2 separate regions of the Homo sapiens genome follow, and region 1 is linked to region 2. Evidence: promoter capture Hi-C in human tissues and cell types (Jung and others, 2019). All regions are on one chromosome and are shown on one strand. The core of a region is centred on a gene start or on the middle of the fragment in contact, and the rest is flanking DNA. Distances in the headings are between cores, read along the strand shown. Region 1 has its middle 43 kb from the start of SPAG17. Region 2 holds the start of SPAG17 (sperm associated antigen 17).

Evidence for each region. The method cuts DNA at HindIII sites, captures the fragments that hold promoters and counts their contacts. A contact is called where the count stands out against the background at its distance.
Region 1: a fragment that was not itself captured here is called in contact with the fragment with the promoter of SPAG17 in region 2 in 1 of the 25 tissues and cell types used here (heart left ventricle).

What each region holds. Positions count from the first base shown.
Region 1 is chr1:118,225,008-118,231,979 of GRCh38, reverse strand. No RefSeq gene overlaps it. Among named protein-coding and RNA genes, the nearest start is that of SPAG17, 43 kb to the right of the region's middle. The HindIII fragment of the contact is 4,437 bases long and covers 819-5,255 here.
Region 2 is chr1:118,182,651-118,188,677 of GRCh38, reverse strand. It overlaps SPAG17 (sperm associated antigen 17), which reads left to right and starts at 3,450. Exons shown (of 49, transcript NM_206996.4): 1 at 3,450-3,607. The coding sequence starts at 3,521. It overlaps LOC105378930 (a long non-coding RNA gene), which reads right to left and starts at 3,448. Exons shown (of 4, transcript XR_947746.3): 1 at 2,865-3,448; 2 at 2,397-2,523. The HindIII fragment of the contact is 16,923 bases long and covers 1-6,027 here.

The DNA of each region.
Region 1 (6,972 bases), core at 1,788-4,287, 44 kb before region 2:
CTGGTTGTGTATGTTAAAAAGGTGTGTGAGTTTGTTGTTTTCATTTTCCCATACTCCTAGAATACTTGCAAGGTAGCTCCGGTGAGCAGCTGGAAAGAGGATTGGGAGCAAACCGAGTGGTTTCCTGTGTTCTATTTTCCCACTGGAGAAAAAACCGTTTTGTATCTACTAGGAACCATTCAAGAGAGTAATTGAAAGAGGGGATGAGAAGGCATTCACTAGTGGTGGGGGCACTGCTTCAGGGGGTCCAGAGGTCCAGAGGTGAATGGTGATACAGGGAGTATGTTTGCCATTACAAAACACAGGCTGTTTGTTAAGCAGGGAGGAAGTGATGATTTTTGGGGGCCCTGAGAAGTGGGCAAGCCATCTGAATGTAGCTGTTTGGGAGACTCGGAAGTTACTATGACCAGCAGGGGCTGGAAGTTGTAGGGTGTAATTACACTGATGGGATAGTAGGTGTCCTAGAGGCAGGCCTGATAACAGTTGCATTGGATGCATAAAGGGGCTTGGAAAGTTAAGATGGTATTCATGGTTACAGGGCAGTGTATGGTTTTTTCATTGCTCATGTAATAGGTGATGTTGGCTAAATGCCAGTCCTCTGTGGGATAGTGCCCTATTCTTTGTTCCCCCAGAGGGTCCTTATGGTGGACCAAGAGATTATTCCTTTGGCACACCTCACAGGCTTTGACTACTTGTGGGATGGTCCAGAGGAGATTTGGCCCTGTAAATAGGGATTCAGCCACTTGAGTGTTCTCAATACACATATGAAAAGTTTAGTGGAGGGTTTTAAGTATTTTCCACTGGCTGGCTTCGGGTATGAGTGCCTTTCCCTCTTCTGTCATTAACCACCCTGAGGGGAGAAAACTATGCCCCCGTGAAAGTCCCCATTCTATTTCAGTCAGGGAGTACTGGGGCTTAATCTCTTAGAGATGGTTGTTCCATACCAAGGATCTTTCCATAGGTATTTCTAATGGGAGATTCCTCCTGGCAGCAATTTTGGCCTCAGTGTCTGCCTGACAGTTTCCTTCTGCCTTTTCTCCTTCACCATTTTAATGGCTTTGACAGTGTAAGACTGCCACCTCCTTGGGTTTTCACACTGCATGCAATAACTCCATGATTTCCTTGTAGTATCTAATGGGGGCTCCCCCAGAGGTTAGGAACTCCCTTTCTTTCCATATTGCAGCATGGGCATGTAGGATTAGATAAGCATACCTGCTATCTGTATACACATTTATTCTTTTGTCCTTTCCCAGTTCTAAGGCTTGGGTAAGCACCACTAGTTCTGCTAACTGGGCACTGGTCCCTGTGGGAAGAGGCTTACTTTCAACTACTGTTACATCACTAACTATAGCATAATCTGCCCTTCATATCCCATTCTCCACAAATGAACTTCCATTGGTATGTAGGTTAAGGTCAGGATTAACTAAGGGGACTTCTAAGAGATCCTCTCTGGAGGCATAAGTCTGGGCTACAATTTATTGGCAGTCACGTTCAATTGGTTCTCCATCTTCTGGGAGAAAAGTGGCAGGGCTGAGGACTGCAAGTGTGCATATTTGAAGCACCAGTTCCTCAAGGAGTAGCACCTGGTATCTAAGCAGGCAGTTGTCTGATAGCCATAAACTTCCTTTGGCACCTAGTATGCCATTTACATCATGAGTAGTCCAGATGGTGAGACCCTTTCCTTGTGTTATTTTGATAGCCTATGATACTGAGATGGCCACTGCTTCAACTACCCATAAACAGTGAGGCCAGCCTTTTGCTACTACTTCAATTTTCTTACTTAGGTATGCCACTGGCTGTGGGGTTGTCCCACGAGTCTGAGTAAGGACTCCAAGAGCTATTCCCACTGTCTCTGTGATGTATAAAGATAAGTTCTGTCCTGTGGGAAGGCTTAAGGCTAGAGCTTGTACTAGGGCCTGCTAAGGTTTTGAAGGCTGTTTCTGCCTCTGATTCCCATTCTACTAGATGAGTATTTGCCCTCTGGGTCTCCTTGATTATAGAGTGGCCTGGCCATCTCACTGTATTCGGGGATCCATAGTTGGCAAAAGTTGGTGATTCCAAGGAACCCCCACAACTGTTTTAATGTCTTAGGGTGAGGATAAGCCAGTATAGGCTGTATTTGTTCCTTGCTGAGGGCCCTGGTTCCTCTGGCTAAGATTAGGCCTAGATATTTGACTTGTTGTAGGCAGAGATGGGCCTTCAATTTAGATGCCTTGTACCCTTGATTAGCTAGAAAGTTCAAGAGATCTAGAGTAGCCTGCTGGCATGAGGTTTCCAAACTGGTAGCCAAAAGTAAATCATCCACATACTGAAGGACCAGAGTGTCTGGACTTGAGAAGTGGTCTAGATCTTGGGCCAGTGCCTGACCAGACAGATGAGGGCTATCCCTAAACCCTTGAGGCAAGATCATCCATGTGAGTTGGGCTGTGTGGTCTGTGGGATCCTCAAAGGCAAAGAGAAACTTGGAGTCAAAGTGCAGGGAATGCAGAAGAAGGCATCCTTGAGGTCCAGAACAGTGAACCATTCTGTTTCCTCTGGTATTTGAGATAGCTGGGTATAGGGGTTGGGTACAACTGGATATAGAGGAATTACTGCCTCATTGATGAGTCTAAGATCTTGCACTAGTCTCCACTGACCATTCAGTTCTTGTACTCCTAGAATTGGGGTGTTGCAGGGACTGCTGCATTTTCTTACTAAGTCTTGAGCTTTTAAATTTCTAACAATATCCTGTAATCCTTTATGAGCTCCAGGCCTTAAGGGATATTGCCTTTGATAAGGAAAAGTGGTGGGGTCTTTTAGCCTGATTTGTACTGGCTGGGCATTTTTTGCCTTTCCAAATTGTCCTTCCAATGCTCAGACTTCAGGGTTGATTCCCTCCTTAAGTAGGGAACAACAAATGGGTAACTTGTTCCCCATATTCATATAGATAAAAGCTTCAGCTTTGGCTAATATGTCCCTCCCTAATAAGGGTGTTGGACTTTCAGGCATAACAAGAAAAGCATGTGAAAAGAGAAAAGTCTCCCAATTACAACTGAGGAGGTGGGAGAAATACCTGGTTACAGGCTGTCCCAGGATTCCTCGGATGGTAACAGACCTTGAGGACAGCCATCTGAGGCAGGAGATTAACAGTGAGAAGACTGTGCCAGTGTCCAGGAAGAAGTCAATTTCCTGGCCCTCAATAGTTAAATGTACCCCAGGTTCTGTGAGGGTGACAGCATGAGCTGGTCCTTGCCCTGAGCACCCTCAGTCCTATTGTTGAATCATCTTGTTGGGGGCTTCTGGCCCAGAGAACCTTTGTCCTCTGGGGCAGTGTGCTTTCCAATGATTGCCTTGGTGTAGTGGACATGGGCGAGGGAGCAGCTAGTTTTTCTTTGGACAATCTTTTTTTAAGGTGTCCTTGCAAACCAGACTGATAACAAGCCCTACCAGGTGATTGGCCTGTCCCATTTTCTGTACTCTCTTAACCACCAAGATTTGTTTGTCTGAGGGCCATGACTAAGGCTGTGGCCTTTCTCCTATCTCACTTTTCCTTTTTGACCTGTTTCTCCTGGTTCCTATTATAGAACACCAAGGTTGCCAGGTTTAATGATGCCTCCAGATGTTGTTCAGGGCCCAGGGCTAGCTTTTGGAGCTTTCTCCTGATATCTGTGGCTGATTGGGTACTAAACTTATCTTTTAGGATCAATTGACCCTTGAGAGAGTCAAGTGACAGGGGAGTATATTTACTTAACGCCTCCCATAGCTGCTCAAGGAAGGTGGAGGGATTTTCTTCCTTTCCCTGAGTTACGGTGGACATCATTGAATAATTCATGGGCTTTTTCCTAATTCTCCTTAGTCCTTCTAGAACACAGGTCAGCAGATGTTTACAACTCCAGTCCCCATGATCTGAGTTGAGGTCTCAGTGGGGATCCATACTGGGCACGGCTTGCTGACCAGTAGGGAATTTGTCCCTTTATTCAGCTGTCCTTCTATAATTTACTAGACTAAGATACCAGGTATCTCCAAACTCTCAGGCTGCAGCTAAAGCTGCATTCTTTTTGTTAAAGGCCAGGGTTTGATTTAACAATAGCATGACATCTCCCCAAGTGAGGTTGAAAGTTTGCCCTAGACCCTGTAGGACATCTATATACTAGCAGGATCATCTGAAAACTTCCCCAGGTCTACCTTGATCTGCTTTAAATCGGAGAGGGAGAAGGGGACATGTACGCGGGTTGGGCCAAATTCCACCCCCCCAAACAGCTTGAAGGGGATATAACTGATAGCCCGGGGGGTTTTGTGGTCCCTTGGAGATTTCTTTCCTTGTTTCCTTCTTGGTGGGGGAGATTAGAGGAGGCTTATCACTAATAGGAAGAGGAATTGTAAGGAGGCTAGGATGTGGAGGTAAGCTGAGATGTCCTCCTGTGGGATGTAAATTGTAAGCTTTGCATAGTTGTGGATTATCCTTCAATGAAAAGAAAGCTTGGACATAAGGTATTTCACTCCATTTGCCTTCCCACTTACAGAAAAGGTCAAGCTGCAGGATAGTGTTATAATTTATACTTCCCTCAGGTGACCATTTTTCCCCATCAGAGAGAGAATATTGGGGCCAGGCCAAAGGGCAGAAAAAATAAGCTGCTTCTTTTTCAGGATTTGTGGGTCATTGGTCCCAATGGCTTAGGATGCATTTCAAGGGTTAGCCTGTTGATGCCTGAGTGTTTCCCATCTGAAAGAAAAAAACACCCATGTTTTTTTTGTTGTTGTTTTTTCCCTGCCCAAGAACCTGCAATGGTCCCTGGACCCTGCTGTTCAGAATAGTTGCACTCACCGAAGCAGCAGCAGAAACACTAGTTTTCCTCCTAGACCACAAAGAGGACTGAGGAAGGTCAGATTTAGTGGCCCTTACCAATGCTTTCTCAAAAACCTGCACCTTTGCCTTTCCTCTTAGACCACAAAGAGGACCAAGAAAAATCGGATTTAGTGGCCCTTACAGATGCATTCTCGAAAACCTGTTAGAGTCCTAAACGTTCTCTCCTGTTAGTATTGGGACCTTACCCTTGTCCTATAAAGATGATATGCCTTGAAATGGAGTGGAGAGCCATACCTGAGGGAGGGAAGGGATCAGGGTTGAAAGAGTGACACCTTTTGTCCTCACTTCTCACCATATGAATAGGAAGGATGTCTACCCCAATTTTGGAGTCTATAATTTCTGAGGCTCCCCATACCCTAGCATTGGGAATAGACTTTGTTAGGCCTGCTAGTCTGAGGAGGAATCCTAAAATTCCAGATAGTCCCCCTACTGACAAGGCTTTGGGCAAAAATTATGTCTTTCTGATTGGCGAGGCTGAGTGCCTAAAGAAGGGAACAGGGTCTGGAAATTTATACTAGAAATCATTCTTATAGGAGAAACTAGAAAAGCACCAGAGACAGGGAGTGTTTTTTAGAAGCAAGACTAGCCTCAGAAAAGAGAAGCAGGAGGAAGTTTGTCTGACAGGCTTTAGGACCCAGGAGGCAAGGGTCAGGAAAAATAGGATAGATGGACAAATCTTGTTTGAGACACGTAACTTTGAGAGTTCTGCTCATGGCTGTAGGGCCAACCAACTTTTTATCAGGACCCCAGAGCTGAATGGCTTTCCTCTTGGTCTACCCTCAGCTCAGCCTGGAAGTACAGAAAAAGTGGAAGCTGGTTCCAGGCAAGCCAACACTCCCAACTCTGAAAAGTTGGGGGTTGTTACAGAGCCCTTTCCCAGAAAGCCTGACACCCATGTCTTTAGTCCAGCAGCCATGCTAGTCACTTTTAACTGGCCGACAGGTGCCCGGTGGTTAGCCCCTGAATTCTAAGTAAAAAAAGACAGAATAGCAAGTGAAAGGGGTCCAATGGGACTCACCGCATGGTGATATCCTAGACAAGCCCCTAAGATGTGTCCAGAGTTGGTTCCTTCCAGTGAGTTGTGGTCTCTCTGACTTCAAGAATGAAGCCGTGGACCTTCATGGTGAGTGTTACAGCTCTTAAAGGCGGCATGGACCCAAAGAGTGAGCAGCATCAAGATTTATTGTGAAGAGCAAAAGAACAAAGCTTCCACAGCTTGGAAGGGGACCTGAACGGATTTCCACTGCTGGCTTGGGTGGCCAGCTTTATTCCCTATTTGTCCCCTCCCGTGTTCCATTTCTGTCCTATCAGAATGCCCTTTTATCAATCCTCTCTGTGATTGGCTACTTTTGGGATCCTGCTGATTGGTGTGTTTTACAGAGCGCTGATTGTTGCATTTTACAGAGCACTGATTGGTGCGTTTTACAGAGCACTGATTGGTGCATTTTAAAGAGCACTGATTTGTGCACTTTACAATCCTCTTGCTAGCTACAGAGCACTGATTGGTGCATTATTACAGAGCACTGATTGGTGCGTTTTTACAACCCTCTTGTAAGACAGAAAAGTTCTCCAAGTCCTCACTGGTATGTTCCTGTGGTAGGTCTTGGAGCAAAAGTTCATGATGTGCGTCTCCACACGTTGGTTGCTCTGTCCTTCTGAGCATGAACTGCAAGGTAGTACTGCCTCCTATCCTCCATCTTAATCCAGTGGGGATTATTTTTAATGTGGCTTATCAATTTTATTTATTGCCATTCTTTGATGTTCCCATAAACATTATGATTGCCTGCCAGGAAATTATACTCAAAATAGGCTTATGGGCACTTAGAATAGTGCCGAGGAAAAAATGATAATTAATAGTACTGAGCTAAAGGTAAGCCTTTATCCCTTTCCAAATGTGAGGCATAGATGTCCTAGTTGGTTTTTTTTATTTTTTAAAGATAACATTCAAATGTTGCTACCTTTCTGCTGAATTACTTGAGTAGAACCACTTCAGCAACTTGTATGTGCATGTGTGTGTGTGTGTGCATGTGTGTGTGTGTGCATGTGTGTGTTCATGTGAAACATTCAACTAATGCTCAAGCAGCCCTTACAGTGCTTGGAACTTACAAATGAAAGCTTTCCTCTAG
Region 2 (6,027 bases), core at 2,201-4,700:
AGGAAGGCCAAAAAATGTCTGACTCCCATATTAGGAGAAAATAAAAGGAAATGTCTGATGAACAACTGGATAGTTTCTGTCACAATAAATATTGCAAACATCTTACTGCTGCCAATATTGTGGTTGGACAGCTGTCACTTGTTAAAAAAAATGGCTAGTGACACTATCTCTGCAATTTTTAAATAACACTTAATTTTACTTTTTTTCTGCTTATTCTATTTTTTCCTCTTCTTATCTGCAACGTATTTTATTAATCATCTGCTAGTGATCTGGCAAAACTGATTGCAGGTAATGGTTTATTTTGAAGTGTGCGTTCACATTCAAGAAGAAAGAATATTAGTAATGTAGCGAGACACGCACAAACAGCTAAATTTTTTAATAAAATATCCCGGAATGCCAACAAACTTTTTACTACGTTTTAAATAAAAAGGCAGGACTTTTTTTCCCCCAGTTTAAAACTATGAGAACTTAATCAAAATTTAGAATGATCTAATTAATGATTAGGTAGATTTTTTTTTTTTTGGTCTGAAAGAGACTCAACTTTATTTTCTAGCCATAATACAAAGAAAATTTTCATCTTACAAATGCTGAAAAAATTTTGGTGAGGAACAAAATTTTGGAGAAAATGCTATGAAAATTAACAGCAGCCTCGGTGTTGTTATAGACTCTCAGGAAAATTCTTTTCTGGCAGATCTCTCTCTGGCATTACCATGCATCAGTTATTTTATTTTCATGACAAAAGAGGGCTTCCAGATGTAAATTATTTAGCCTATGGCCAGGCTGCCATAGGATCTATCTATTCCCTCCCAAGAAGATGAACTGTATTTATTCCAGCAAGAAATAAAAACTCGTATTTTTCTGTAAAGTTTCTGTGAAAGACTGTTTCTAGAAATTATTTTTCTTTAATACAATGGTCCCTTGGTATCCACAGGGAATTAGTTCCAGGACCCTTCACGTTCTCAGATAGAAAAATGTCTGATATTCAAGTCCCTTAATGATGTGTCTGCATTTGGTTCCTGCCGGTGGGTTCATGGTATCGCTGACTTCGAGCATGAAGCCCAGGCTTCCACGGTGTTATAGCTCTTAAAGATGGCATGGACCCTGTCCGGGTGCGGTGGTTCACGACTGTAATCCCAGCACTTTGGGAGGCTGAAGTGAGAGGATCACGAGGTCAGGAGATGGAGATCATCCTGGCTAACACAGTGAAACCCCATCTCTACTAAAAATACAAAAATTAGACAGGTGTGGTGCTGGGCGCCTGTAGTCCCAACTAGTCAGGAGGCTGAGGCAGGAGACTGTTGTGAACCCAGTCTGCCTCCGCTGGGAGGCAGAGCTGGCAGTGAGCCGAGATCCACCATTGCATTCCAGCCTGGGAAACAGAGTGAGACTCCATCTCAAAAAAAAAAAAAAAAAAAAGATGGCACAGACCCAAAGAGTGAGTGGTAGCAAGGATTTTTGTGAAGAGTGAAACAGCAAAAGCACAAAGCTTCCACAGCATTGAAGGGGACCCAACAGGTTGCCGCTGCTGGTTGGTGGTGGACAGCTTTTATTCCCTTATTGTCTCCGCCCATGTTTTGTTTTTGTCCTATCAGAGCGCCCTTTTTTCAATCGTCACTACGATTGGCTACTTTTAGGATCCTGCTGATTGCTGCATTTTACAGAGTGCTGATTGGTGCATTTTACAGAGCACTGATTGGTGCATTTTTACAGAGCACTGATTGGTGCATTTTACAATCCCCTTGTTAGCTACAGAGCACTGATTGGTGCATTTTACAATCCTAGCTACAGAGTGCTGATTGGTGCATTTTACAATCCTGTTGTAAGAAAAGTTCTCCAAGTCCCCACTCAACCCAGGAAGTCCAGCTGGCTTCACCTCTCAATAAAATGGCCTAGTATTTGCACATAACCTACGCACATCCTCTCCTACACTTTAAATCATATCTAGATTATTTATAATATCTAATATTATGTAAATGCTGTAAAATAGTTGTTATGCTGTATTTTTATTTGTATATTTATTTATGTTTTAATATTTTGGATCCAAAGTTGGTTAAATCCAGGGATGAAGAACTGTGATGATGGGAGGGCTCACTCTAACTATATTAAAGAATTAGGGTGGAAAGATAAACTTCCTTTCATGGTCCAAATTACGAACAAAAGTTGAAGCATCATCATTAAAATTTGCCCCCAAATGAAAAAGGATGCTAGTGGCTGGATAGCACTATCCTCCTTCCCTCAATTTATTCCTCAAAGAAATTAAAAGGGTTAGCAATTAAAAGGTTTAGAACATCCCCCGTGGAAGGTCACCCGTTCATCAGGTTGTGCCCAGGGAAATTAAGTTTCTGGCTTGCATCACCTCACTCATCTGGGCCACTGGGATAACTGAAGCATCTCACCTCTAGGCAAAGTGCAGGGCCTTAATGGCTAGTTAAGCCCTGGTCAGTGCTGAATTCCATATGACTAATGAGACCGCAAGGCACCTTTGGTTGCGCTCTGCCCCAGGGTGTCCTCAAATTTGTCTCACTGCAATAAAAAACAAAAGTAAATCTAGCTCCAGAAGGGGGTATCCCTCATTTTGGCAGGCCTAAAACAGTAGTAGACAGCAGTGTAGCAGTTATGCACACTAGATCTGTGACTCAGATAATCCTGGGATCTAATCCTGGCACCATCAATCAGACACTGTGGGAATTGGATAAGGTGGTTGTGAGAATTAAATGAAATAATCTTGTATATAGCATATAACCAGTGCCCAAGAAACAATGGTTTTTATTACTATCATTATTTTGGGAAACTTGTCCAACCAGGATATTTTAGATATTGATGAGTGCAGGGTGGGAAAAAAGGGGAAAAAAAAGTCTACTTACCAATCAATAAAAGGCAGTTTAAAGGACTGGAGCTGTTTGGGCAGATAAGTACATTAATCCCACCTACAGTTAGATAAGGGGTCACGTGGAAGGGTGATTGGACTTGTTTAGTAAGGCCCCAGAGGCGGAGGCTGAAACAGTGCAGAGGGTAGAGGTCAAGGAGAGACAAATTTGGATTCATATAAGGAAGCATTTGGGGCAGATTAGAGCGGTTGGGAAAAAACGGCATGGGCTGCCTCCTGAAGGGGTCAGTATTCCAATCTTGGTTACTCAGGATCGGAAGAAATCTTGATGGAGGAGTCCTGGATGGGATTCCAGAGATTTTGAGTTTCTAGACAACGCCTCAGACCGTAGAAGAACGTAGCCCGACCTGCGAGGCCAGCCTCGTCCTGCCCTCCTCCAGTTGTGCAGCTTTCCTGCTGAAAAGTCCTAAAATTTGACCGGGGGACTGGGAACCCCGCCCCCAAGCTGCCGCGCGCTCTGAAACTCCGTTGCTGTGGAGACGGAGGCGGTTGACCCAAGGATTCCGAACGGTGTTGGGGGAGGGGAGCCGACGTGGTTCAGGAACTGGGCGTGGCTTCGGTTACTGTGGTAGCGGGGACGCTTAGGCAGGGCCTGCGCCCAGTTTAGAGGCCAATGCTTCTCCCGTCCTTTGCATGGCACCCAAGAAGGAGAAAGGAGGAACTGTGAACACCAGTTCTAAGATATGGGAACCCTCGCTCATAGCTGCACAGTTCAATCAGGTGAGCCTTGAGCCCTTTAAGCCCTCCCTGCCCCCGGCAATGCCAGAGGCCCGGCCAGACCCTCCTAGGCGACGCCTTAAGGCTCGCCCTCTCTTCCGTATCTCTCCGTGGCCTGATGGTTCCAGGACCCAGGGTCCCAGGGACAGGAAGTGCTTGATAAACGAACGGAACTTAAGGGAACACCCACCAGGTGAGTCAGTGTGATTTCAAAGGTTGGTGAGAACTGCCTAGTGGGGAAGAGAGGAGGTGTCGCTCTGACACCTCCAGAACCTTTTCAGTGAAGTCGTCCAGATGGCACTCCACAATTGTACTGGAATTCCTTTTATGGACTTTTTGTTTTCTCCTGAAACCTTCTAAAGGATGAGAATCGCATCAAATCATCTGTGGCCTGGCCCATAATAGGGCTTTAATAAATGCTGAGTGAAAACAGACACGGAGTGCCTAGAATTACACTGTATTTAGTACAAGCGAGCCTTGTATAGATAGGAAAAGATGATTTTTTAATGTAATGCCCTGATCCCACTATATTAAAGTTTTGACATATTTTTAAGGTGTGGGAGATCAGAGCAATGAGGGGTTGGCGGCCAACTTACCCACAGAATGCCACAAAGGCACCAGGCAATCTACAAACCACCTACCACAGGACTTCAAAGTGCATGAGATCCCAGAATTCACTGGCTCCCCACCCAGCTTCAGTAAATGAGGAGCCCAATAGCTCTTGTCACCTGCAGCTGGAAATCCCCTTCTACATTAAGCTGTTTCTACGTACAAGTTAGCATTTGGGAAGAGAAAAGTTGTTTCTGGAAATTCCAGCCCGCCATTATGAACTACTTTGAAAAGTGGGGAAAAAAAATTTTTTTTTCATTTTATATATGTCTGTATGGTGCACTAGAGAGTCAGTACTTAAAGGGAAAATGGATCTAAAGTCTTGTGTTGCCTTCATGAGAAATTTTTACCTGTCTTTATTTTCCACTATAACTGTTTTTTTTTCCTATTAACAGTAATTCTGTTTGATAAGGAAATTAGTCCTGATGAAGAATTTCATGAAAGTAGTTGTGATACTCCTGATGCTGATGTGATGTCATGGAATTTTGGGTCCTTTCTATAACTTTAGTAATGCTGGATGTCAACTCAGTAATCCCCAGTTACATTCTCAAATTCTCAAAGATGTTTTTCAAAGCACTTTGTAAAAGCACCCTCTCTTTTGCTTTTATAAGTCAGCGCTAGCCAAAATAATTTTTTCTCCATTTTCTTTGAGATTGTGTAGGCCAAGTTTGGTCTTGGAGTGAACATTTCTGCTTGAATTATAAACTGCTGAACAACGGAGTTTGATGGAGGTGCTGACACTGCATTAGCTTTAGTGTTGCAAATATGAAGCTATAATTTTCCTAGTTGAATGGAAAACCTAAAGGCACTATTTGTCCTTATGGCTTGAAAACCTGAAATAATATTCAGCTTTCTTGATCCTACTCAAACAATATAACTTCAATAAATCTTATGTATTAATAGAAAGAATTTGAACTCAAAGTAATATGTAGTTTTAACTATAAACAGTGAACTCAATTTTCTTCAGTTTGTTGGAATACACATTTTCTTATTGCAGGAAAAAGACAACTACCCTCCACCTCCTCTCTCATTTTTCTCTGCTTGATTTCATGTCTGATCTAAAAGAATAATTCCCAGATTAACCCAGCAGTTCAATGCCCAGAGGCGTGCCCTAACCACCAATGAAACGGACTCTGAATTTAGGTTATAGATGACTGTGGGTGTGTGAATTTTGAGCACACGTAGTGTGCTCTATTGTTTTAGTATCCAGAGAGTTTCTTTCCATACACTTGTTACTCATGTCCAAGTATGTGTGGTTGAGTGTGTGTGCTAGTTTATGTGTTGTATTATGTGTGTGTGCTGGGGGTGAGAGAGAAGGAAAGAATTCCTCCAGTCTTCCATAAACAAGTTTTTAGAAGTAACTCATTGGATAACCCAAATCAATAGTATTTTTGAACTCATGTTCATGTTGGGTAGGCTTTAAAGAGAATAAACAAGTTCACATTTTGGTTTTATTGAATTTACCTTGTATCACTGTCTCAGGTTGTCCTTTCAGGCTGGAATAATTATCAGTTGTTTCATACATTTTAGTTGGTTTTAAAATATAAAATGATAGCAAATAATACAAAGCATTCTATCACTAAGCACTAAATGATTAAATAGAGACTAGAGGTTAGGAAGATGAATATGGGCTGGGATAGTCAGGAAATGATTTGTAAAATATTTGCCTTCACCTGGGCTCTAAATAATGGGTGGAATTTGAACAGGTAGAATGAAGAAGCATGATTATTTTAAGTAGGGAGACTAATATGTGCACCAAGTAAATCTGATACATTTAGATTGGGAGAAAAATGTACGTTAGACCACTTCTGGGT